Linked DNA regions of Homo sapiens: regions 1, 2, 3, 5 and 6 are each linked to region 4. The links are contacts of gene promoters, found by promoter capture Hi-C in blood cells and fetal thymus (Javierre and others, 2016). All regions are on one chromosome and are shown on one strand. The core of a region is centred on a gene start or on the middle of the fragment in contact, and the rest is flanking DNA. Distances in the headings are between cores, read along the strand shown. Region 1 has its middle 4.4 kb from the start of PFDN4. Region 2 overlaps ATP5F1E (ATP synthase F1 subunit epsilon). Region 3 has its middle 130 kb from the start of DOK5. Region 4 holds the start of AURKA (aurora kinase A). Region 5 overlaps STX16 (syntaxin 16). Region 6 overlaps VAPB (VAMP associated protein B and C).

Region 1 (4,098 bases), core at 1,306-3,805, 2.2 Mb after region 4:
CTTAGGACCAGAAGGGACCTAAACTCTCACCTACGTTAACCTTTGCCTTTTGCTGAAGTATAATAATAATGAGAGTTCATATGGTTTGGCTGTGTTCCCACCCAAATCTCCTCTTGAATGGTAGCTCCCATAATTTCCATGTGTTGTGGGAGGGACCTGGTGGGAGATAATTGAATCATGGGGGCGGTTTCCTCTATTCTGTTCTCATGGTAGTGAATAAGTCTCATGAGATCCGATGGTTTTATAAGGGGTTTCCCCTTTCTCTCGTCTCATTCTCTCCTGTCGGCCACCACGTAAGATGCGCCTTTTGCCTTCCACCATGATGGTGAGGCCTCCCCAGCCACGTGGAACTGTGAGTCCATCAAATCTCTTTTTCTTTATAAATTACCCAGTCTTGGGTATGTCTTTATCAGCAATGTGAAAACGGACTAATGCAATAGTAACAGTAACATACAAAACTGACAGGGTACATACTATGTGGCCTGCACCTTGCTAAATGTTTTAATCCTCACCATACCACACAATATTGTTATCGATCATTTTACAGGAGAGGAAATAGAGTTTCAGGAGGACAAAGCTACTTGGCCAAGGCTCCAGCAGCCAGGAAGTACCAGAGCCTGGGTTCGAACTCTTGGTGAACCTGGCTCCAGAGACCACTCTCCTAAGCACCAGGCTTTACCCATCACCACAAGTCATGTATAAAGTCAGATGTGTCCCCGAGTGGGCAGCTCATAGTGGACATTGCAGCTCCTGTCACCTGACTTGCATGAGTAAAGTGTTTAAGACTCAATAAAGGGCTTACTGGAGCCAGACTGCCTGCGTTCAAATCATACCTGCACCACTTTCTAATTTTGATGTTAGACAAGTTACTTTCATGGCAAAAATAATAATGTGTCTCTAATAGGCTTGTTGCAAAGAGTAGAAGAGATAATACGTGCAAATAAAATGCATTGTAAGCTCTCAGGAAATGTTAGCTATGATTACTTTCTCAGTTCAGCCCAGTTGCGTCTGAAATTCCACTGCCCAAGTTATGATCTTTCAAATCTCCTCTTCAAGAACTCCCCTGGCTTGGTATTACTGCTAACTACCCCCATGGCCATGATTAGTGCTGCCTTTTGAGACTGTAGCATCCATTTCAGATGTGTAGAAATTGGAAAGCATCCTGGGGGAGAAGAATGACAATGGTTAGAAGCCATCCCAGCCGGAATCTTTAAAGCAGACCCCAAGGCAAAGGCCTAGATACTGCTTCTTCATTAAGGAGTACAATCCCAGGGCAGCCAGAGCGAGGAAAAAGCGGAATGAAGCAGGTCAGGGAAGGCAGCAGAGCCCATACCAGGAGGCCTCACCAAGCCGACCTTTGCTTGGTATCAAGCACGACTGGTTGCTCCCTCTCTGGGGACTGTCCTGTAAGAGGCTGTGTTAACCAGAACACAGGAGAGTTCAGCTGGGGAGAACTCTTATTTGCCAGTTCCTGCCTCCCATTCAAAGGCTGGCCCCACGGGGACCTCACTCCCAGACACTTCCAGGTTGCTCATTGAGGCTCCCATAATTTTTCTCACCTCAGCCTTCCACAGGGAAGCCCCCAGGTGGAGGAACAAGGTGTGAGGCTGTAAGCACGAGCCAACTGGACGGAGAGGCAGCCCTGCAAGTCTGCACACCATGGCCGGTGTGGAGCTGGTCACTGTGGGAGCTGCTGGGGTGGAGCAGGTGGCCAATGGCAGGTGAGAACAAAGACAGGTTAAACCAAGAGGCTTTAACATGACACATCCTTAGGTGCTGTCTAACACTGAGGCCCATAAAATCAGCCAAGAAGTTCAGGTTATAACATACTGAAGAGTCAGTGAATTAAATTCTTTTAGGACTTTAAAATTACATTGGACAAACCACAGAATGAGAGAAAATATTTGCAAACTAAATATTTAGTTTAATATTTAATTAAGAAATAAGGCAAGAAAAAAGGGATTAACAGCCAGAGTATATGAGGAGCACAAACAACTCAATAGGAAAAAAACTAATAGTCCAGTTTAAAAATGGGCAAAAGATCTGAATAGACATTCTTCTAAAGCAGGCATACAAATGGCAAATGGAGATATGAAAAGGTGCTCGACATCACTGAACATCAGAGAAATGCAAATCCAAACTCCAATGAGATATCAGCTCATCCCAGCTAAAAATTGCTTTTTCCAAAAGACAGACAATAACAAATGCCAGAGAGGATGTGGAGAAAAGGGAACCCTCATACGCTGTTGGTGGGAATGTAAATTAGTACAACCACTGCAAAGAACAGTAGAGAGCTTCCTCAAAAAACTAAAAATAGAGCTACCACATAATCCAGCAATTGCACTGCTAGGTATATAACCCCCAATAAGGAAATCAGTATATCGAAGAGATGTCTGCATTCCCATGTTTATTGCAGCGCTATTCACAATAGCCAAGATTCAGAAACAACCTAAGTGTCCATCAACAGACGAATGGATAAAGAGTTGGTGGGAGTGTAAATTAGTTCAACCATTATGGAAGAAAGTGTGGTGATTCCTGAAGGATCTAGAACCAGAAATACCATTTGACCCAGCAATCCCATTACTGGGTATATACTCAAAGGATTATAAATCATTCTACTATAAAGACACATGCACAGATATGTTTATTGCAGCACAATTTACAATAGCAAAGACTTGGAACCAACCCAAATGCCCATCAATGATAGACTGGATAAAGAAAATGTGGCACATACACACCATGAAATACTATGCAGCCATAAAAAAGAATGAGATCATGTCCTTTGCAGGGACATGGATTAAACTGGAAGCCATAATTCTCAGCAAAGTAACACAGGAACAGAAAACAAAATGCCACACATTCTCACTCGTAAGTGGGAGTTGAACAATGAGAACACATGGACACAGAGAGGGGAACATCACACACCAGGGCCTGTCAGGGGTAGGGGGCAAGGGGAGGGATAGCATTAGAACAAATACCTAATGCATGCAGGGCTTAAAACCTAGATGAAGGTTGATGGGTGCAGCAAACCACCATGGCACATATACCTATGTAACAAACCTGCACGTTCTGCACATGTATCCCAGAACTTAAAGTAAAATGAAAATACAAAAGAAAATGTGGCACCTATACACAACGGAGTACTATTCAGCCATAAAAAAAAGAAAGAATGAGAGCCTGTCATTTGCTATAACATGGATAAAACTGGAAGACATTATGTTAGGTGAAATAAGCTAGGCACAAAAAGACAGATGTTGCGTGTTCTCACTGATTTGTGGGAGCTAAAAGCCTTAAAACAACTGAACCCATGGAAATGGAGAGTAGGATGGTTACCAGAGGCTGAAAAGGGTACTAGGGGACGGGGAAGTGGGAATGGTTAATGGGTATAAAAATTAGTCATCTAGAATGAATGAGATCTAATATTTGATAGCACAACAGGGTGACTACAGTCAACAATAATTTATTGTACATTTTAAAATAACTAAAAGAGTGTAACCGAGTTGTTTGTAACACAAAGGATAAATGCCTGAGGTGATGGATGCACTATTTACCCTGATGTGATTTTTTTTTTTTTTTTTGAGACAGAGTTTTGCTCTTGTTGCTCAGGCTGGAGTGCAATGGCGTGATCTTGGCTCACCACAACCTCCACCTCCCGGGTTCAAGGGATTCTCCTGCCTCAGCCTCCCGAGTAGTTGAGATTACAGGCTTGCGCCACCACACCCAGTGAATTTTGTATTTTTAGTAGAGGCGGGGTTTTGCCATGTTGGTCAGGCTGGTCTCAAACTCCAACCTCAGCTGATCCATCTGCCTTGGCCTCCCAAAGTGCTGGGATTACAGGTGTGAGCCACGGTACCCGGCCCCTGATGTGATTATTACACATTGTATGCCCATATCAAAATATCTCAGGTACCCCATAAATATTTATGCCTACTGTGTACCCACAACATTAAAAATAAATACATAAATGTAAATAACAATAATAAAATAAAATCAGATTGGTCCAAATGCTAATACATGTGCTGCCAAGAAACCCTGAGAAGCCTGCCTCATGCAGGGCCCACTTATTCATCACCATGCTTCCTTAATGTCCAAGTGCCT
Region 2 (4,093 bases), core at 1,080-3,579, 2.6 Mb before region 4:
AGTTGACTGGATGGTGTAGCACTTTACATTTTGTGGGTACACTACAGCGGAGCTTCCCGACTTGCTGAGGTCAAGCCAGCGAAGTCTTGTAGAATTGGAAGGATGGAAGGATGATAGTCCCAGTAGTAGATACCGTTTATTAGGCAACCTACCCTGTGATCCATACTTTTTCACACTTGTTTTTCCTCCTCCCAGCTATCAGCAGGACAGGTATTATTGTCCTTTTATTCTGTTGTTTTTTTCAGGTGAGTGAGTAAACGTGCTGAAAAGGTTGAACAGCCTGAAGGTCACCCAGTTAGTAAGAATGGAAGCAGGCATTGGAACTCATACCTCTGAGTCCCCAAAATAAATTCTAAAACATGAGAAAATAGCACCCCTCCCCGCTTCCTGTTTTTCAAAAGTGGGAAAGGTGATCTGACATCTTTTGGAAACTACAGTGTTGATGGGAGTCCATCTACCAAACAGGAAGCAGGTTTTACAGTTTTGCTAGAATTGATGATGTTCTCTAAGCACTTTTCAGTTTGATTTAGAAATCTTCATTAGGAGGTTATTTTCAGTGGCAGACTTGTGAGACAGAATTCAGTATTCTCAGAGAAGAGTTTAAATAATTTAGAACGAATTGTTTTAATTCAAAATAGTTTTCTCTTATGTATACCTCATTTTCCAAGAATAATATAATTAAAGTTTTAAGGAGAGAAATCGAGGAGAGAATTCATGATTCATGTTATAGTCTCTAAACATTTCAGTCTCTTTTTTTCTATGCTGTGGGATTTTTAAAAACATTTATGCATCTTTCATTTTGAATTAATATACACTAAAGAGAAAACACAGTACAAAGAAGAAAAATCAAAGATCATCCATCCAAACACCAGTTAATACTTTGGTACATTTTTTTCTAGTTCTTTTTCTTTGTATAGATACTTTTTGGCATTAGTCATATTTTTAAATCCAATTCTACAATAAGGTACAACCAAACCAAAATAAAAAGTACAGGAAGAAAAGCGAAAACACAGTAACAGCTGTCTGGCTGGAATATTGATAATTAACCATATACCTTCTCTCATTTTCTCCCAGCTACATCCGATACTCCCAGATCTGTGCAAAAGCAGTGAGAGATGCACTGAAGACAGAATTCAAAGCAAATGCTGAGAAGACTTCTGGCAGCAACGTAAAAATTGTGAAAGTAAAGAAGGAATAATCTGTAAGTTATGGATTTATTTAGAAGAACAGTTGCATCTTAAGTTTTTGGAGCACCATAAAGATCAAAATAATTTTAGTTTTGGGTTCTATTCATTTTTTAGTCAGTGTATTTGGAAGTTAGTTATTGGGATGGTATAATTTAAAGCATGCAGGTTATAGAAGTCCCCTGGCCTAATAAAAAGAAAGTCTTCTTGGGCCCTGACAAGCAGAAGTAATTGGCACATTGATTTTCAGTTCATTTAGCAATGCTTAGGTAGAGAGCCATCGTATTTGAATTAAACCTGTTTCATTTGTCTGCACAAATCAAATAATTTGGAGGATGAACTCCCCACTTGTATAATTGCAATTGGAGTTACATAACAGTCCAAGAGCATGAAAAACTACAGTTCTTTACATTTTTATTTCCCCCACAACCACTAATGTTCTCACAAATCACTACTTCCCGAACATAATAACTACAGGCACAGGCAAGGGTCCTGCTGTTGTATCAAGCAATAAAATCTGCAAGACCCCGCAGCGAATACTGTTTTGCTAATTTATTATGCTTTCAGAGGGTTTGGTTCATTTTACTTTTCCAAAGATGTTGGTGATGTAAAGTTAAATTCTCGTGAAATAAAAAGGTCTGTACAGTTGATAAGTGTAGACTTTTGTGTTCCACATTATAAAAGTGGTTTGATCTCTAAAGTACTTTCTTGACATTGTTATTTCAAAAGTAGGCAAGGCAAATTATCAGAGAGATGTTTTTCAGATTTAATTTTTCTTGTTTTGCTTTTAAAAAGCTTCAGACCCATAATAGCACAGAAATGTGATAAATATTAATCCTTTGGCAGCTTATGGTTATGAGCAATTTTACTTATTGGAACTGTCTCCCCTAAGCACTTTTCATTTTCATTTTGAATTAGTAAATATTTTATTACAAGTCTGGAGATGCAGTGTTTTGAATTTAGCCCTTTTTCTAGGGGCTCTCTGTCTAATCTCATAATTCTGAGTAATGAGACCTGGTTTTATGTTGGGTTGTTTTGTTTTAACAGTAAGCTAACAGAAAATCATTTAGCCTCACTCGGCTCAGAGCTGCCAGACTGCATCTAATGCTGAGATTTTGCAAAGTCCTGGGGGTCAGGAAGTAGTGTCCGATCCCCTTAAACAAAGCATTAGCCCCTCTCTGTTATGCCCTTCAGGGTTACAGACCCCACCTCATTAGCACAAGGAGATGTTAGTGTCTTTTAAAGGCAAAGTAGTTTCTTTATTCTGGGAGAGTGTTTACTTTTACTCAGCAGGAAAATGCCTGCTTGACTAAGCCTGTGTACTTGAACCAGCACTTTTTACATCTGAGCCACGGCAATGTGAATGATAGCCACAGTTATACAGTTCACTATAAGGAAGTTATTTCTTATATTCATGTTGAGTTTTTAAGAAAACACAGAGAACTAGCCAGCAACTTGCATTTTCTTTTTCCTCCTAGACCCTGACTAAAGCTTGAAATGCTACATTTCCAAGGTGAAGATGTGTGGGCACATGTTATGGCAGATTGAAAAGGATCTCATTCCATGGGAAAAAAAAAAATCCTGTCTTGTTCATAAATTGACAATGTCAATAAATTGAAATATGGTTCACTGTTACTCTTGATTTTAGTTTGTGAGACTTTTTCATTTTCTTTAAAGGAACTGTCTGCACAGCTGCATGATTATGGCCATGTGAACCAGGGTTTCTTAAAAGCAGGGGAAGCCAGATTTAATATTTAGTGACCAAAGGGATACAGAAAGCATTTTGAAAATGTCTCAAAATAGTTGTTTCATGACATTAATTGGTGATCAAAATTATCTGCTGTCATTGAGGCTTCGTAGTCCCTTATTTTTGAATTGTTGTCATGTCAGAATAATGACATGGTTATCAGTAACAAATGGAAATAATTATTAAATACTAAAAGTGTAGATTAGAAGAAGAAATACTAAATTGTACTTGTTTTGTATTGTGCACTTAAAGCCTATAGATAAGAACGGTTACAGAATTTAAGCACAAAGTGTTTTTCACATTGTTTTGTAAATGAATCTTTATACTCTGGTAGCATTTCTCATAGGAAATGAGGCAAAGCTATTGAATAACTTGCTCATTGAGTTGATGGCCAAACTGAAATTAAAACCTAGGAGTTTTGACTGCAAGTCTGGGACACGGTGACCACAACAGCAGTTTCGTGGTATTTCCATAGTGATTCATTCATTCATTATTTAGGGATGAAAAATTGTTGCAAGTTATGTTTTTATCTTTCTTTGAAACTTGAAAGGGCTTGGGCAAGTAAAACACCATTGCAAAGTTAACTGCCTGATTTTAACTGTTTTTGGAGACTGGAGAAATAAATTTGAACTGGAAATTTTGAAACACCATTCTAGGATCAGTTCTCACATGGTACTTAAGCTCACAATGATTTATCAGGGCCACTGTCAGCAATGCCGAGGATAAGCCGAAAAGAACATCTTTGTTCTCGGCTTCTGGGAATGACTTATTGTCCCGACACTTGACCTGTAGGTTTTACTGAATTCTCAGCACAGAGCGAGCAGGGAGGCAGAGCCAATTGAGTGGAAGAGGGTGCCTCTGGAAAACAGCAGGTTAGGAGCCCTTGGAGTCCTCCGCCTCGGAGCTGTCATCCTGCTGTTGGCAAGTTAGGGCACCTCAGTTCAGTGCTGTGGCCCCCAAGATTAAGGTACTAGGAAGTATCCTCCATTACAGGGAACAGGAATAAATGAATCAAAAAGCTATCGGGCCTTTTTGACATGGGACGAATAAAGTAACTAATAGGCAAAGGGGCTAAATGATTTCCAGTCAAGTAATTAGAGATAAGTCATTTATTAAGGAGGCAGATGGGGTATTATTGGTATATAGATGGCATAGTAGATTG
Region 3 (4,122 bases), core at 1,278-3,777, 2.1 Mb after region 4:
AACTCGTCATTTAGCATTAGGTATATCTCCAAATGCTATCACTCCCCCCTCCCCCGACCCCACAACAGGCCCCGGTGTGTGATGTTCCCCTTCCTGTGTCCATGTGTTCTCATTGTTTAATTCCCACCTATGAGTGAGAACATGTGGTGTTTGGTTTTTTGTCCTTGCGATAGTTTGCTGAGAATGACGGTTTCCAGCTTCATCCATGTCCCTACAAAGGACATGAACTAACCTGTTGTGGAGTGAAGATCATTGTCTCCCCATCTCTACAACGGAGCCAAAGTAGAGATAAGGAGAGGGAGGCTTAAATAGACTCAGTTAATTGCACAAAGCCTCACCAGTGGTAAAGGGCAAAGGCAGAGCTTAACCCTCAAGGCTTTCTAACCTCAAGGTTAGAGTATTAGCTACTAAGTATTAACTACAGTATTAACTACTAAGTTATATGGTACTTAGGGCATAACTTAGCCATGACATGTGACTCCAAAGATAAATAAGTGTTCATGGTTGAAGCAGCCTCTTTGAAAAACACCTACTTATTCCTTAAACAAGTAGTTAACAAATACTTAATTGTGTGGCAACAGTTATCCTAGATGCTGGAAGTACCAAGGTGGGCAGTGCAGAGAGGAACTCACACCATACAAAATCTTCCTGGTACAGAATCTGACTCACTATCCACTACATTGTCTACCTTGTGCCTGAACTTTTCTCAGTTTGGCAAAGGTCCGGTTATTCCCATAAGGACAAAGACATAACTATATCTCTCTTTAAAGGCTCTGAAAAGTCCTGCAATTAAGATAGTAGTTCGATGTTGGTTTCTCAATCTGCAAATGTGGATATTATCGTTTGGTATGAGTGTGCAAGAGGCTGAAGAAAATCTTAAAACACAAGCTTTGAGTAACCGGTTTGACTACGCTCCACAAGGTTTTTTCTTTCTGCTCAATTTCCAACTTCCACTTTGCATGCAACCATCACTGCACTTCTAAATGTTGATGGATGTACAGAACATTCTTTGCCAGAGACCCACTTGGGCACAGAAGTCTGGAGCAAACTAGAATATTTTATACACACACACAAAAATAAGACCTCATTCTTTCACAGGCAAAACTCCTCTGACGTCAATAGTAGGCTGGGAACAAAGGATGAAACAATAGATAGCAAATTTCAAGTAATTACCTAGCCAATGGCATAGAACGTGATTGACTGAGTCCTTGTGCTTGGCATGCAGATGATTAAATGAGTTTTAATTTGCACATCCAGTGGCAAGACTGCCAACGAATAAGAAATAGAAAAAAAGGAAGAGAGAGAAAGGAGAGCGAAGAAGGCAGGGAAGGAGGAAGGGAGTAGGATAGAAAGCGGGAGAGAGAGAGACAGAGAGAGAGAGAGAGAGAGAGAAGGAGCTCTCTATGCAAGTTCCCTGGAAATGTGGTTAACAGATTGCTAGCATACAAAACAAATAAAAATAAAAATAAAAATAAAAATAAAAATAAAAAATAAAGGTCAGCTAGATGGTTTTAAAAAGCTTTGTCAACAGATTCAAACCTGTTCAGGGACTCTGGGGTGGTAAAAGGGGGAAAATGATGCCCTCGCTATATCTGCAGAAAATGTGTGTTTGCATATTTACTGCTACAGGAATTTGAATTTCTTTTTATGCTATTTCCTAACATTTACAGATGGAGCAGAAGTGTGAGCAGTGGGGAGGCAATTTGTTTCTTCCTCAAAGGCTGCAACTCAATTCAGAGAAACAAATCCAGCTTTCAAGAGCAATTAGATTAAATTCACAATGGCTGCTCTGGGCAAGTTTGATTGTCTGCTGTGATCATTTCTTGTGCCATTTTGCAAGTAGATTGTGAAAAACAGCGATGTCATCACTTCTTCATAATGTTGTCTGAATAACCCTACCCCCACGATAATGTACTCATTGGTCAAATAAGTTAAAAAATTCTGCTTACTCTATTTGCTTCTGGAAAGTCACAATGTATGCTTGTATGTTAAAGGCTCTGAAAAGTCCTGCAGTCAAGACAGTAGTTTGACATTGGTCAATCAAGATTTGTCTAATCCCGTATGAACGCAAATGTTTTTCTGATAACCCATTTTGTTACATCTGACAGCATGGGTGTGCCCTAGAAATGTTTTAGGAAATGATGGATTATATGATTTGCTCCAGTTATCAATCACAACTTTCATATTCATTTGAAAAAATAGATCTAGACAGATTAATCAAACAAGTAATTATTAATCTGTCTCAAACGTGTATTTTCTTTCATGCATAGAAATGAGTAAGACTCATATAAATATGTTAGTTGTCAAATTATAATAGATTCCATTTATTGAGTACTCACTATGGATATATCAAGTATTTCGTTTGATCCTAATGATAACAGTAAGAAATAGACATTTTTAGCCATGTTTTATAGATGAAAAAACTAAAGTTCTGAGAATTTTAGTAATTTGCTTGCATTCAGCTAGGATATGGTAAAATCCACATTTGAACTCAGACCTCAGTTTAAATAATGTGTTTTTTCTGTATTGCTGCTTTTTCTTCTGCCTGGCATAGGCATTAAATGAGGAGGCAGGAATGAAAGGGAATGCTTACCACATTTTCTCTGACACCAGGTTTACCCACATCCTTTCTCATCTGATATATATTTAACATCTGGAATATCTGATTTTTACAATGAGGATAATGAGGTTTGTGGATTTCGAGAGCTGACATTTTATCCAGTATCAAAGTAGCTTTTGAGGAATATGATTAAAATCCAGACCCCTCCACTTTAACATTTTAATTAGGTAAAAATAAATAGTAACTTCATGACTATACACCAAATCAATGTAATATGCCATTGGTGTTAATAAAATCCAATGCCTGAGTCATAACTCTATGTAACTTAAATAATTCCACACTTTAGGAAATTTGTTTTATAATGTGCATTATAAAGAGATTAATTAACGCAAATTTTCCTTAAGTCTGTAATCACACAGACAAAAGGAAGATACTCTCTCAGTCTACATTTTTTTTCTGCTGATGAGGATGTTGGATAGATTTTTCAATTACCTGAGTTAAGAAGCAAGGCCTGGTCAACACAGTGACAACTACCTTGAACAAGGAGACCAAATTTATAGCAACCTAGAGAAGAAAACCACACAATAAGTATAAAGAAAGTTATCAGGGCAAAACATAATGAAACCTATTTTGAATTATAACTCTAGGCATCTATTAATCACTTATTGTCTTATATGTCACTCAAGAAAATGATAAATCCAGCCCTGTTCTTGGGGAGATTGCAATATATGAAGCGCTTCCTAGAGAACACTACCACTGGTCAGAAAATTTACAGTGTGGAATAAGCAAACCAAATATTATCTAAGAGGAATCTTGTGTAATCTTTGCTAGTTAGGATTTTCCTTTTTCTGGTAAAAGTACACTGAGTCAGCTCTGCAATGAGCGTACTTTCCCTGCTGGATAGAATATGGTAGAAATAACAGTGTCCTTCCTTTCCCTGGTTAAGGGATCTGGCCATGACCCAAGATAAGCTTATTGAACGCTGTTTCCTTTGAGTGTGGAATCTTGAAGGAAATGACACAGAAACAAAAAAGATCATAGGCTGATTAACTTCATCGCTGACATCCTAAAGTAACAGCCCCTCAGTTCTGGCTGTAACTCCCCCTCTCCCCGTGAGCTTTCTTTGCTCCTTGTGTTTTTCCAAACCTCAGTCTATGGCTTTCACTTGGATCCTTTTAGGTCCCTTATTTCCCTTGAATGAATTATTTTTCTGCTTAAGAGAGCAAGATACACTTTCTCTTGCTTGCCACCAAAGACCCATAATTTAAACAGTTTCAGATCTGGAACTTCAGAGAAGTATAATAATGAACAGGATAAAAACAAATACTAAAAGTAAACAAAGATAAGTCCATAGTCTGATTCCAACAAAATCATAGGCTAACCATAATTAGACATGTAGGGTAGGGAAGTATGTTAATATTTACATTGGACCAAGAAGAATTATGTCATAAGTTCTACCTCAAATGCCACTCAGAGGCAAGCACTTAGGAAGCACCCTCCTTTTGGAAATATCCATGACGTCCTGTGGGGCAAAATTTCAAGGGAGTATGGAAGAAAGAAGG
Region 4 (4,011 bases), core at 1-2,500:
AAATCACAAGTGGGTAGTCTGGCAAAGAAAAGTTGATGAGAGATTCTACTGTTAACGTTGGGTTAATATGACTCGAATAATTTCCGTATGCTAGCTCAATGCTTTACATGCACATCCTGTTTACCCTGCAGTAATCTGTTAATTCGTCTTATGTGAATTTAACTCTTAGTCCTAATAAGGTACCTGGAAGGATGGAGGGAAGCCATTTTTGGTTCCCCTACACCACTGTTCTATCCGGTCTCTTCACTTCTGCTGAGCACATCCCGGGTGTACATACACACACACACACACACATATGTGTGTGTATATATATGTATATGTGTGTGTGTGTGTATATATATATATATTTTAAGTGGCCCACCCCTAACTTCTCAACTCCCACAGAACGTTCACTCGCCAGGTAAACAGAAGCCTAATTATCCCCAATTTGCAGGTGAGCACACGAGGACAAGAACCCGATCCAGGACCGGATACATCGCAGTTGGAAAGGCTAGAACACAGATGCCCCCTCACTATATGCGCCGCGACCATCTGGATGCAGAGGCGAACTAAGGACTGGGTGGGAATGGAAGCGAGGCCCTTCGAGAAGAGGAAGGGGTGCAGGCCAAGCCGGGCAACTTAGGAAACGCAAAGTAGAGGCGCATGCCACCTTGCTAACTCTCGACTCTTCCAGTCTCGCCCCAGTCGTTTCTGTGGTTTTCTCTAAATGCCCCAGCCGACCGCACCAGCTACTCTCCCCGTGTCCCAGTACCAGCTGGTCCGGTTCTCTTGGTATCCCGCTCTCTCCTGGAAAAATGGAGGCGCGAATCCTGCCCAATCTACCGCTCCGAGCGCACGTTCACTGCGCACGCTGAAAGGGCGCCAAGCCGACCGCTGCGCTATCGATCGGTCCCACTCTCTCTTGCTTTTCTCGCCATCTTACTTACTGGCACGTTCAAAGGTTAGTTCACCTCCTTGGACTTTATCTCCAATGCGTCAAGCTTGACGTCAAGGGGCTGTTGCTTCACCGATAAATGGCCGACCGCGGAGAGCACCCTGGGGCTGGGACTGCCACAGGTCTGGCTGGCCGTTGGCTCCACCACTTCCGGGTTCTTAGGGAGCAAGTGCGCCTGCGCGCGGTGTGCGCCCTTAAACGCGACTCAAGGCGTCGGGTTTGTTGTCAACCAATCACAAGGCAGCCTCGCTCGAGCGCAGGCCAATCGGCTTTCTAGCTAGAGGGTTTAACTCCTATTTAAAAAGAAGAACCTTTGAATTCTAACGGCTGAGCTCTTGGAAGACTTGGGTCCTTGGGTCGCAGGTGGGAGCCGACGGGTGGGTAGACCGTGGGGGATATCTCAGTGGCGGACGAGGACGGCGGGGACAAGGGGCGGCTGGTCGGAGTGGCGGAGCGTCAAGTCCCCTGTCGGTTCCTCCGTCCCTGAGTGTCCTTGGCGCTGCCTTGTGCCCGCCCAGCGCCTTTGCATCCGCTCCTGGGCACCGAGGCGCCCTGTAGGATACTGCTTGTTACTTATTACAGCTAGAGGTACAAGGGGTTTGTTGAGTGGTGTTGACATGCGCGGGAGGGGTGGGTGGGCTTCAGATTGGATTTTGTCCTCCGAGATCACCTGGGTAAGAAAAGCACAGAAGGTCTCTGCTGTGTTGGAGTTCACGTTCTAGTGGGTGGGGAGACAGACGGTAAGCGTACGGAGAACTTGCAGCTGGGGTGGGTGTTACAGAGGAAAAGCAGGAGTGCGGTTTAACGGGGGCCGCTTTAGATAGAATAGCCTAAGAAGGCCCTTGTCCTGGCTGGATGAGTGGGTGAATTGATGAATGAGAACCTCCTTGCAGAGGCCTTCCCGGTCCGTACTTCTCAGACCGTAGACCTTGGAGCAGTTGTACCGGGATAACTTGCAGTGCTTGTTAAACATATAGCTCCACCGAGAGCCCGGTAAATCAGAATCTCTGAGGGGTAGGACCCAGGTGTCTAGTTATTAACAAACTCTCCAGATGATTCTTAGGTTTCATTGAGAACTAGGGATGCAGACCGGTGCATACAAATCGTCTGGGGACGTTAAAATGCAGAATCTGTTTTTTTAGACCTGGGGTTAGGCCTCAGAGTCTCCATTTCTAAGAACCATCCGGCTGAGGTAGACGTAGCCACTGTCCTTAACTCTCGTAATGTCTCTTCCTCTTCCGTAACCTTCCTTGTCCCTTGAATTAAACGTTTTTCAGCAACCTACTCAGTTCGTCCTTCCCTTCATCTCTGCAGACATGCACAGGTCTGAGGGAGGAAGGAATAAACCGTATAAACCTCCTGCGCTATTAGCCTAACAGCTTTTCTATTCAAAATAGTAGGACTTCTGGTTTGAACTGAATGGATCCTGTGAAAGTCATCTGGTTCTTCAATCTGGTTGCAGATTAGAGTCACCTGAAGGGCAGTCTCCTTGGCGTTGTCTCCAGAATTCTGGATTAGAATCTTATTCCATTCTGCTTGTTATTCAATTTCCCTAGAAAGAAAGGTAGAATAAATTGGAGCAAATGCCTGTAGCTTCTGTCAGAAGAATGTTGAATAAATGTTGTTAGGCCTATGTGATCTCATTAGACTGCTACTTAGAATTGTAAGGGAAGTAAAGCATTAGAGCATGTGTGAAATTAAATATTTGATTAACACAAGTGTGCATTTCCTTGTTGCTGTTTATCAACTTTTACTTACCCACTGTTTTTTTATAAGGGCTGCAGCCTGTAGTCTGGGCCTGGCTTCATCATGGAATTATTTGCTTAATTGTAAAATGGTAATCTTAATTTTTTTTTTTGAGACAGGGTCTCACTCCATTGCCCAGGCCAGAGTGCGGGGATATTTGATAAGAAACTTCAGTGAAGGCCGGGCGCGGTGGCTCATGCCCGTAATCCCAGCATTTTCGGAGGCCGAGGTGGGTGGATCACCTGAGGTCGGGAGTTCCAGACCAGCCCTACCAACATAGAGAAACCCTGTCTCTACTAAAAATACAAAATCAGCTGGGCGTGGTGGTGCATGTCTGTAATCCCAGCTACTCTGGAGGCTGAGGCAGGAGAATTGCTTGAACCCAGGAGGTGGAGGTTGCGGGTGAGCCGAGATTGCGCCATTGCACTCCAGCCTGGGCAACAAGAGCAAACTCTATCTCAAAAAAAAAAAAAAAGAAACCTCAGTGAAATGAAAGACTGAACTACACACCTGGGGGAAAAGCGTAATAAAGGGAGCAAGAAGTGCAAATGCTTATGGCAGGGGACTTATTTGCAGAAAGAAAGCCTTGTGTGGCTGGTACACGGTTGACAAGAAGAGGAGATGAAGTCAGAGAGGTAGTTAGGGTCCATGTTCTGTGAGACTTCAATAGGCCTGTCTATGCAGGTTAGGAGTTTGCATTGTTTTGATTGAGTTGGGAGCCATGGGGGTCTTCTGAACTGAGGATCAACACATCTGATTTGTTAATGAGATTGCCGGCCTCAGTGTTAAGAATGGACCATGACAGGGTAAGGGTGGAAGTGGGGAGGCCATTGGGAGGCTGTTGGAAAAAACTCAAGGGAGAGAGAATAATGGTTTGACCAGGTGGTAGTAGTAGAGGTGGTGAGCAGTGATCTTGAAGGCAGAGCCTACAGAATATGCTGGTGGATTAAATGAAGGGTTTGCGAGAGAGAACCTCGTAAAGGGTTATTATGCCAAGGCTTTTGGCCTGAGCAACTGACAGGATGGGTTTGCCATGCACTGAGATGAGGATGTCTAGAGACTAGATTTGGGGAGGTGAGAGTGGGGAGAGATTAGGACTTCTGTTTGGGACATGTTAGAATGGAGATGCCGCTCAGATAATCAGGTGCAGATGTTGCATAGAAAGTAGAAAATGTAGATCAAGAGTTCAGGGGAGAGGTCTGGGCTGAAGAATGAATATTTGGGAGTCCTCAGCCTGTAGATGGTACTGAAAGCAAAGAGACTGGATGTACTCGGCTAGGGAGTAATTGGAGATGGAGAAGTCATTCTAGGCCTGAGCTCAGGGCACACCC
Region 5 (4,133 bases), core at 1,359-3,858, 2.3 Mb before region 4:
ATATGAGTTATTTTTCCTGAAAAAAAAAAAAAAAAAAAAAAAAAAGGAGCAGGAATCATATTATCCATGCTGCTCTGCATCTGGGTCTTTCCACTCCGCCATGTGTCTGGGGCTTATTCCACTGCAGCTCTCATGGATGGGCCTCACTATTTACCTGTTACAGAGGGTCAGAGATGCTACACAATATATTTAACCAGTTCCCAATGAAGGCTATTTAGGCTGTGCTCAGTCTGTTGTCATTATCAACTAGTTAAGGTTTTTAGAATATATAGGTAGATCTGAATCTACTAGTTAGGACCCCACTGGTTTTAAGGACAGTGATCCTCCTAATCCTACTTTACTATTCATACTTCTAAATGAAAACAAACAAGAACAACCCTCACCTCTCCATCACTCTACTTAAAAGGTCTATACTCAGGAAAAATATTCTTACCCCTTCAATGCTGAAACAGACAATAGACACAAACATTAACAACAGTTTTAATCTCATTTTTTCTCAACCCTTTTACTCCGGCTACTAAAATAAAGTGCTTTGAATATATATTCTCTCCACCTTCTGGGCAAGATGCTAGTAGCTAATAAAAAGGCCAAAGGCACCCCCAGCTAGGAGATGCAGAACTGGGCCCAGGTGACAATAGCTCCAGGTGCATCCACTGGGTGTCATCTCATTCCAGACAGGAGTGACAAGGAAGACCCTCCCACAGTTGCCGTGGCTACAGTCCTTCTCATTTAGGGCCTTCACAGACATGCTGGCCTTCTATACTGTCTACCTGAGGAAGTGCACGACTCACTTCTCAGAAATCAGGAAGCTACAGACATTAATTCTCAAAACATTCTGGCTTCCTTGAAGAAAGTGTTCAACCTTTACTGCTTCCAAAGTTAAGACACTTTCCCAAGACTAGTAAACGATCTTCCCAAAGCCTTTTTTAAATCATCAGTTCACATGGTGTGAAAATAGATTAAATTCTACATATTAAACTGTTAAAAAAATTATAAAGTAATCAAAACAAATGCTAAATATGTATAAGCTGTTAGCATTTTATATATGAGCAAAGACTTCAGGAAAAGTAGGTATTTTATAAACTCAAATTACCCAACATATAAAAATATTCAAAACACAATACCTCGTCCAGCTCCTGAAGAGACATGTTGTCCCCATCAGTCCCATCCAGTTGGGGAAAGCACAAAGAAAGCAGCATGGGACAGACAGACAGACAAGGCATGGTCAGTTGAGAAAACACTGAGATTTTAAGCTGACTAAATATAAAGATCCACTAAGCAAGGCATTTTAAAATCTCCTTTTTTTTTTTTAAATTAAGCTACATCAATATATGCTTTAATTTTTATTTACTGTGGTTGTTTTGAAAATGAGCTAGGAAACAAGCAAAAAATGACTGTAAATATTAAAATACACTGGAAACAGATAAAACACACTTGCTTTGGTTTCACTAAAATATGCTGTTAATCTGTTTCATAAACACCAAATATCACATACAATACCACATTCTATTTTCCCTCAGGAAAATAAAATAAGAGAGCAGAGCTAAAATGTAATTTTATCATGTTAAATAAATGTATATTTTAACATGTAAATCAGACCTGCAAATGCAACAAAATTAAAAAATAAATGACCCACAAAAATTGTCTGTAGCTGTATTCAGATAACATGTGAGTGACCACATATGTAAGGTCTCTGCAAATTACATCCCGCAGACACGGCTTCATCCCTGGTAGTAAGAGAGCTGAGAAACCACTCTTTCCCGGAGAGAGACACAGGTGGCAAAATAAAAGAAAAACTCTTACCATCTCTTGGTATGTATTATTATTAGCTAGAAAGCATACAGTTATTCATAAGGCTCTTATAAAAGCAAGCAAACGAGACAAAACAAAAGGTAAGAATAATTTTTTTCTTTTAAGGGGAGGGGGAAGGGAGAAGCATGACACCAGAGGGTTAAGTTTCAATTGAAAAGTAAAGGTTCTTTTTTAGATCAACATGGAACTCTATCTTCTGGACAGACATTTACTAATGACAGATAATCTAAACAACTAGGTCTTTTTTTTGTACAGTATTGATCACTGAAATAATTAGTGGTGAAATTCAATAATCAATTGTGTTTTTTTATGTTTAGCAGTAAATTTAGAAAATAAAACATAACTTTCTTATTTAAAAATAGTGCAAATGAAGCTGCTCTATCAGGGTCAAAATATTATTAAACAATGATAGCAATAAAAATGTAATCAAACTTTACTCCACGTAAAAATTCAATTAGATGACATTATGAAAAGCTGCAAATCCTCTTCATTCCTTCCACAATTTTCTATGAGAGCAAAAAAGAACTCTATACACACCCTGCCATAATAGTAGTACTAGACGATATTAATAAATCAAATGGAAAGCTGATTTAATTACCTTTTACTTTACAAAGAAAAAATGTTTTTATTTTTTAAAAGCTTAACATTAAGAGAACATTAAAATCTTTTATTAATAAAACATGATGCAAGACAAAATCCCTAACTTGAGTATCTCAGTCTTCTTCCTATTCTGCAGCGGCTCCCTGGCATTTAATCTTTGAACGATGTACTATTGCAAACCTCGGTTAAAATCTCTGCTGCACATGTGCCTATGCTCTTGGATTATTAACCGAGCACACACACCCTGATCTTCTGATTTCTACAATTATTAGTTGATAAGAGGTGAAATCAGAATCATGGGATTCTAGGGCTAGAAATAAGTCTTTTCTTACAAATAAGAAAACTAAGCTTCAAAATGTATAAATGCATTGCTTGAAGCCACAGAGCTTGTTAATGGTCAGACTGGGGACAGACCCAGGTGTTCAGGTCTCTTTCCACCCCACCCTCCAGCCTCTCTAATTTTATTAACAATTCAGGGAATTACTTGTGATAGGCAGCTACCACCACATCAGGAATATTAAATTAAGGTCACCTTTTCAAAGACCCTCCCCACCATTCTGCTATTTAAAAATAGAAGGCTTTCAAAATTCTGTCTGCCACCAAATTACCAGGAAATTTAGTCAAGACCTGAATTAAAACATTTAGAATTACCATCAAGAAAGACCAAAATAAAGCCAAATGAAAACACGTTACTACACATCATCACCTTCTAAATCTTTATAATGTCTAAATCTAGGTTTTTGACCTTCCAATGGCATGCAATCAAGCAAACACTGAAAACTCCAAGTAGCATGTGGAATTTATAGTCTAAAGAACTTTCTACATAAAACTGAAAAATAAGTGGAAACCCATCTGTGTTTACTCAGGAAGTCTGGAAAAGTTGAGCAAAATGAGTTGGAAACACAGGTCTATGCTATAGTGATATTTACTTTATTTCCGTTACTGCCAAAATAAAAGTTTGCTTCACTTTTATCCAACAAAGTACCCTTATTCTCAAAGTAAGCCTCACTGCTCCCATGGAATCTTTAAAAGCAGAAAAGCAAGTAGATCTAAAGAGAAATATATAATGATTTCATACTTGGATTCTAAAGACAGAGAACTAATTTTCCAACAGACTCAGCTTGTACTAAAACTTAGAATCTTCAATCTGCAAGTTAAAATTGACTATGTAAGGTTCATAAAGTGAGATAAAGAAAGATGCTAGCCTATTGCAAGAAAAAAAATTGTTTTAAAACAATAGGTCCTTCCATTTTCCAGGATCTGCAGCACAAGTTCTGAAAATGCAGCCAACACCAGAGTGGCCCAGGAGGTGAGCACGGGGCTCTGAAGCCAGATTTGCCAGAGTTCCAATCACAGCCCCCAGCCATCAGGTGGGTGACACTGGGCCAGTTTCCTACCTCCTCTAAAATCTGTTTCCTTATCTGTATCTGAGAAAAACAATAGTACTTATTTGATAGAGCACTGTGAAGATGAGCTGAGCTTACACACGGAAAGGGCTTAGCCCAGAGCCAGGCACAAAGTAAACTCTCCATAAATCTTAGCTAATATTGTAGTCAAGCCTGAATAAGGACCTCAGGTTTCTTATAACCATAGTTAATCCTTAATTTCCTTTTTCCTAAAGCACACATTTTATTAAAAATAATGTGCTTATGTTTCAAACTAATCTAAGACCAATTAACGCTAGCTTCCAATTATAGATTATGCATTATTTTAAAGCAGAG
Region 6 (3,947 bases), core at 1,346-3,845, 2.0 Mb before region 4:
TAAGCAATATTCTACTGCAAATAAAATTCTATCTAAATAGAAGAGTGACAAAACATGATTCACATTTTACACAAAGCAGGATGAGTCAAGACAGATAATATGCTCAAGTTAGGGGTATGAGTGATAAAATAGCATGGGGTCCCAATTTCTCATGGTTGTAGTTGTTTTAACAGTTCAAGTGCAAAAAGTCATTAACAACAGAAGTAAAACTTCTCCAAAGTGTTCCATCTTTAGTGGAGATGACAGCATGTGAAAAAGCCTCCATACGAAAATCAACACATCCAATTCACACCAGATACAGAACAGGGGAGAAGAACAAGTTTAGCATTCTGCACCTTGATGATCCAACTGGAATTTTCAATCTGTGAACGATGAGAAACAGTAGAACGTGGTTTATCAGTTAGTGTGTAATCTGTTCTGGTTCCTTTTCAATAAAGAACCTAAGTGGCTATACCAGTGATAAGAGATTATCAACCAGGTCAGCAGCTTCTTAAACTCAAGAAGAGGCCAGGGGAAAGGCTGTGAGACTTGGATGAAAAATATTTTCTATTTTTCCCTTACTCTGCCTTTGGAAATTATGCTCATTCTTCAAAGTTTTGCTCAAACGTCTTCTCTTTTGGAAAGGTTTACCAAATCTCTTTAATCAGAAGAAATTACTCCTTACTGTTCTATGTCACAACAATAAGCTGACTGCCAAATTTATATCTGCAGCCTGGCCCTCTCCCCTGAGCTCCAGACTCAACTACCTATTTAACATCTCTCGTTGCAAGTGTACTGAGCATCTCAAGTTTCTCATGTCCAAACGGCACTCTTGAGTCCCACTCTCCTCCCTCAAACTCAATGCTTCTCATCTCAGTAAAGAAACCACCACTCACCCAACTGCTTAGGCCAAAAGCAGTCTCTCTTCCTCTACATTTAATCTACATTCCTCTATATTCCTCTACATTTAATCTAGAAACCCTGTCTCCACTAAAGATACAAAAATTACTTAGGCGTGGTGGCACATGCCTGTAGTCCCAGCTACTTGGGAAGCTGAGGCAGGAGAATTGCTTGAACTGGGAGGGGGAGGTTACAGTGAGCCGAGTGAGATCGCACCACTGCACTCCAGCCTGGGCAACAGAGCCAGTCTCCGTCTCAAAAAAAAAAAAAAAAAAAAAAAAAAGGCTCCTGGCCAGGCGTGATGGCTCACACCTGTAATCCTAGCATTTTGGGAGGCCTGAGCTCAGGAGTTTAGGAGTTCAAGACCAGCCTGGGCAACATGGTGAAACCCTGTCTACTAAAAATAAAAAAATTAGCTGGGCATAATCCCAGCTACTCAGGAGGCTGAGGCAAGAGAATTGCTTGAACCCGGGAGACAGAGGTTGCAGTGAACCGAGATCGCGCCACTACACTCCAGCCTGGGCGACAGAGCAAGACTCTGTCTCCAAAAATAAAAATAAAAATAAAAATAAACTCCTGCTCAGATTCCTCTGTGGCTTCCCATCTCACAACAAAATCCAAAGTCCCTCCTGTGGCCTGCCTACCGGCAAGGCTCCTGCCCTCTTCTTTGAGCTCATCTCCCCGCAGGCCCCTCCACCACTCTAGCACAGGCATACCTTGCTGCTCCTTGAACACACCAAGCTCATCATCACCTTGCACCTGCCCTTCCATCTGTCTGTAATGCTCTTCCCAAATGTCTCCACAGTTCATACACTCATTTTATATAGGTCTCAGTTCAAATATCACCTCCTCAGGTAAATGACCTTCCCTAATCACCCTACTTAAATGACCTTCCCTAATTACCCTACTTAAAATTGAATCCATTCCCAAATCCCTTTATCTTGCATTGTTTTTAGTTGTTTTTTTCCCATTTATCACCTACTGCCTGACACCACATCATATATATTTTCTGTTTTTATTTAATGTACACCTTCTCCACTAGAAGATGAGCTCCACAAGGTAAAAGTTTTCTCATCTCGGCCTCTCAGCAATGCTTGGCACACTACAGGTACTCAATAAGTAACCCATGAAGAGAATGGTTCAGGTGCTGTGCTAGGCTCTCAAGCTAGAGAGAGAAACAGGGCACTGCAGCTCCCACCCAGAATACACAGAACAATCTTGGGGCCCATCCAGAATTAATGAATCAGAATCTCTAGGACTGAGACTCCATAATGATTTTTTCTTTTTAAAAAAATATCAAATGTGACGTTAGCTCATATTTAACAGTACCAATCTATTCTAAGCACTTTACATGTGTTAATTTGTATACTCCTAACATACCCCAGAGGGAGAAATTTGAGGCACAGAGAGGTTAAATGCATCACTGAAGGACACATGACTTTCAGATGGCAAATCTAGGGTTCACACTCTTAACTCCTGGGCAGTATACTACCTCTAACTGCATCGAACACTGTATGAAAGGTAATCTATAAAGCATCCTATCAAAAGGGGAGGGTGAGGAGCACAGGGAACTGATCACTGAGGCAAGCCCTGGAGTCTGAAAAGCAGATAACGCAAAGTACACTTTGAGCTGTAGGGAACTTGGGTGAAAGTACAGTGTGATAACGCTATAAGGGGCTTCTGGGGGCATCAAATGGCTGAAGAGGAAGGGGTACGAGAGGGGTGAAAGAAGCTGAGGCTGGAAAGATGCGGTGTGGCCTGACTCTGAAGAGTTTTGCTGCTGGCCTAAGAATTTGGGCCACGAACCTATCCGTAAGATCTAGAGAGCCAATGAATGTTTTTAAACCAAGAAATGATATCAAATTTCAATTTTTAGAAAAATATCTCTGGAAACTGTATAAAGTATAGTCCAAAGGGTGAGAGAAGCAGGCAGAAAAAATAGAGACAGAAAGTTGAGTCACGGTGCTACTACAATAGTCTGGAAGGGAAAGGACCTATACTTAGGATACGATAGAATACTAAGAAGCAAAAGGGCATAGGAGATGCTGCTGATTTAAATGGACTGAGTAGATGTGAAAGGTTACGGAAAATGGGGAGTGAAAGACAAGTTTAGGATTTCCAGCTTGCCAACTTGGTGCAAGGGCCATTCCCAAGATCCAGAAGCCACAGTCAGTGGGGATGAGAAGGTAAACGGTAAATACAGTGTGGAACATGCTGAGTTTGAGGTGTTCTCATGACAACCAGATAGACAGGGATGTCCAGCAGGCTGACAGATCAAAAGATTTGCTTGGAGATAGAGATTTGGAAGTTTTCTGTGCAGAAGTGGAAGATGAAGGCATTATTAATGAGACAACATACAGAGAATTGTTAAATTGAGAAGACTGAAGCCAGAACCTGAGAAACCTCAACATCCAGTAAAAGAGATGATAAAGAGGTGGACAGTTCATCAGAAAAGTCAAAGACAAGTATCACAGAGAGAAACCTGGGGGAACTAAGAAGGGTTTGAGTGAAGGGGTGAGGTCTGATGAAAGAAGAGTAAAGATACCAGAAACTGAGATTCACCGCTTCCCCAAAATTAGCTGTGATAGAAGACTGGGCATTTGCTTAAGCGGGGAAGATCTAGAAAACAAGATTTCTTTTTAGGAAGGGGCAACTTAAGCATGTTTGTAGGCACAAGGAAGGAATCAAGTACAAGAGAAAAGTGAGACAGCAGTAATAGGCTAACGATGCAAAATACTGTTAAGTGATGGGAAAGGAATGGGGTAAAAGAACACACACCTAAGAGGTAGTCCTGACTCTCTGAAATAGAAGAGGAGGAGAAGTAAAAACATAAGTTTCCACAAGAGAGAAAAGCAACCAGCATTTAGTGGAAAATCTTCAAATATTTTCTGAGCAAAATGCACTGTGTCTACATCGATCGGCTGTACATAACGGGCCCTGCCGACAGGCTTCATTACTCTTCACCACTGAAAGTCTTCTTTCTTCCCCCCTCTCTCCTTTCTCAGCTTTGTTTTTGTTTTTGAGATACAGTCTTGCTCTGTCACCCAGAGTGGAGTGCAGTGGCATAA

The links. The method cuts DNA at HindIII sites, captures the fragments that hold promoters and counts their contacts. A CHiCAGO score of 5 or more calls a contact.
Region 1: a fragment that was not itself captured here is called in contact with the fragment with the promoter of AURKA in region 4 in 1 of 17 cell types (M0 macrophages); the score reaches 7.7 in M0 macrophages.
Region 2: a contact is called between a fragment that was not itself captured here and the fragment with the promoter of AURKA in region 4, in 1 of 17 cell types (total CD8 T cells). The highest score is 7.6, in total CD8 T cells.
Region 3: a fragment that was not itself captured here is called in contact with the fragment with the promoter of AURKA in region 4 in 1 of 17 cell types (endothelial precursors); the score reaches 6.2 in endothelial precursors.
Region 5: a contact is called between a fragment that was not itself captured here and the fragment with the promoter of AURKA in region 4, in 9 of 17 cell types (total B cells, activated CD4 T cells, naive B cells and 6 more). The highest score is 15.0, in total B cells.
Region 6: a fragment that was not itself captured here is called in contact with the fragment with the promoter of AURKA in region 4 in 2 of 17 cell types (activated CD4 T cells and naive CD4 T cells); the score reaches 5.4 in activated CD4 T cells.

The regions. Positions count from the first base shown.
Region 1 is chr20:54,201,681-54,205,778 of GRCh38, reverse strand. No RefSeq gene overlaps it. Among named protein-coding and RNA genes, the nearest start is that of PFDN4, 4.4 kb to the left of the region's middle. RefSeq lists an enhancer at 143-372. The HindIII fragment of the contact is 5,383 bases long and covers 1-4,098 here.
Region 2 is chr20:59,027,411-59,031,503 of GRCh38, reverse strand. ATP5F1E (ATP synthase F1 subunit epsilon) reads left to right here. Exons shown (of 3, transcript NM_006886.4): 2 at 1,075-1,201; 3 at 2,663-4,093. The coding sequence ends at 1,198. It overlaps SLMO2-ATP5E (SLMO2-ATP5E readthrough), which reads left to right. Exons shown (of 6, transcript NR_037930.1): 5 at 1,075-1,201; 6 at 2,663-2,826. Among named protein-coding and RNA genes, the nearest start is that of ATP5F1E, 2.9 kb to the left of the region's middle. RefSeq lists an enhancer at 2,160-2,690. The HindIII fragment of the contact is 696 bases long and covers 1,982-2,677 here.
Region 3 is chr20:54,340,303-54,344,424 of GRCh38, reverse strand. No RefSeq gene overlaps it. Among named protein-coding and RNA genes, the nearest start is that of DOK5, 130 kb to the left of the region's middle. The HindIII fragment of the contact is 2,012 bases long and covers 1,522-3,533 here.
Region 4 is chr20:56,389,454-56,393,464 of GRCh38, reverse strand. AURKA (aurora kinase A) reads left to right here and starts at 1,250. Exons shown (of 9, transcript NM_198437.3): 1 at 1,250-1,297. CSTF1 (cleavage stimulation factor subunit 1) reads right to left here and starts at 820. Exons shown (of 6, transcript NM_001324.3): 1 at 752-820. RefSeq lists an enhancer at 865-1,104. The HindIII fragment of the contact is 5,454 bases long and covers 983-4,011 here.
Region 5 is chr20:58,656,626-58,660,758 of GRCh38, reverse strand. It overlaps STX16 (syntaxin 16), which reads right to left. Exons shown (of 9, transcript NM_001001433.3): 2 at 1,125-1,136. STX16-NPEPL1 (STX16-NPEPL1 readthrough (NMD candidate)) reads right to left here. Exons shown (of 23, transcript NR_037945.1): 2 at 1,125-1,136. Among named protein-coding and RNA genes, the nearest start is that of STX16, 7.4 kb to the right of the region's middle. The HindIII fragment of the contact is 309 bases long and covers 2,454-2,762 here.
Region 6 is chr20:58,402,958-58,406,904 of GRCh38, reverse strand. The region is part of intron 1 of VAPB (VAMP associated protein B and C); the gene reads right to left. Among named protein-coding and RNA genes, the nearest start is that of VAPB, 16 kb to the right of the region's middle. The HindIII fragment of the contact is 5,875 bases long and covers 1-3,947 here.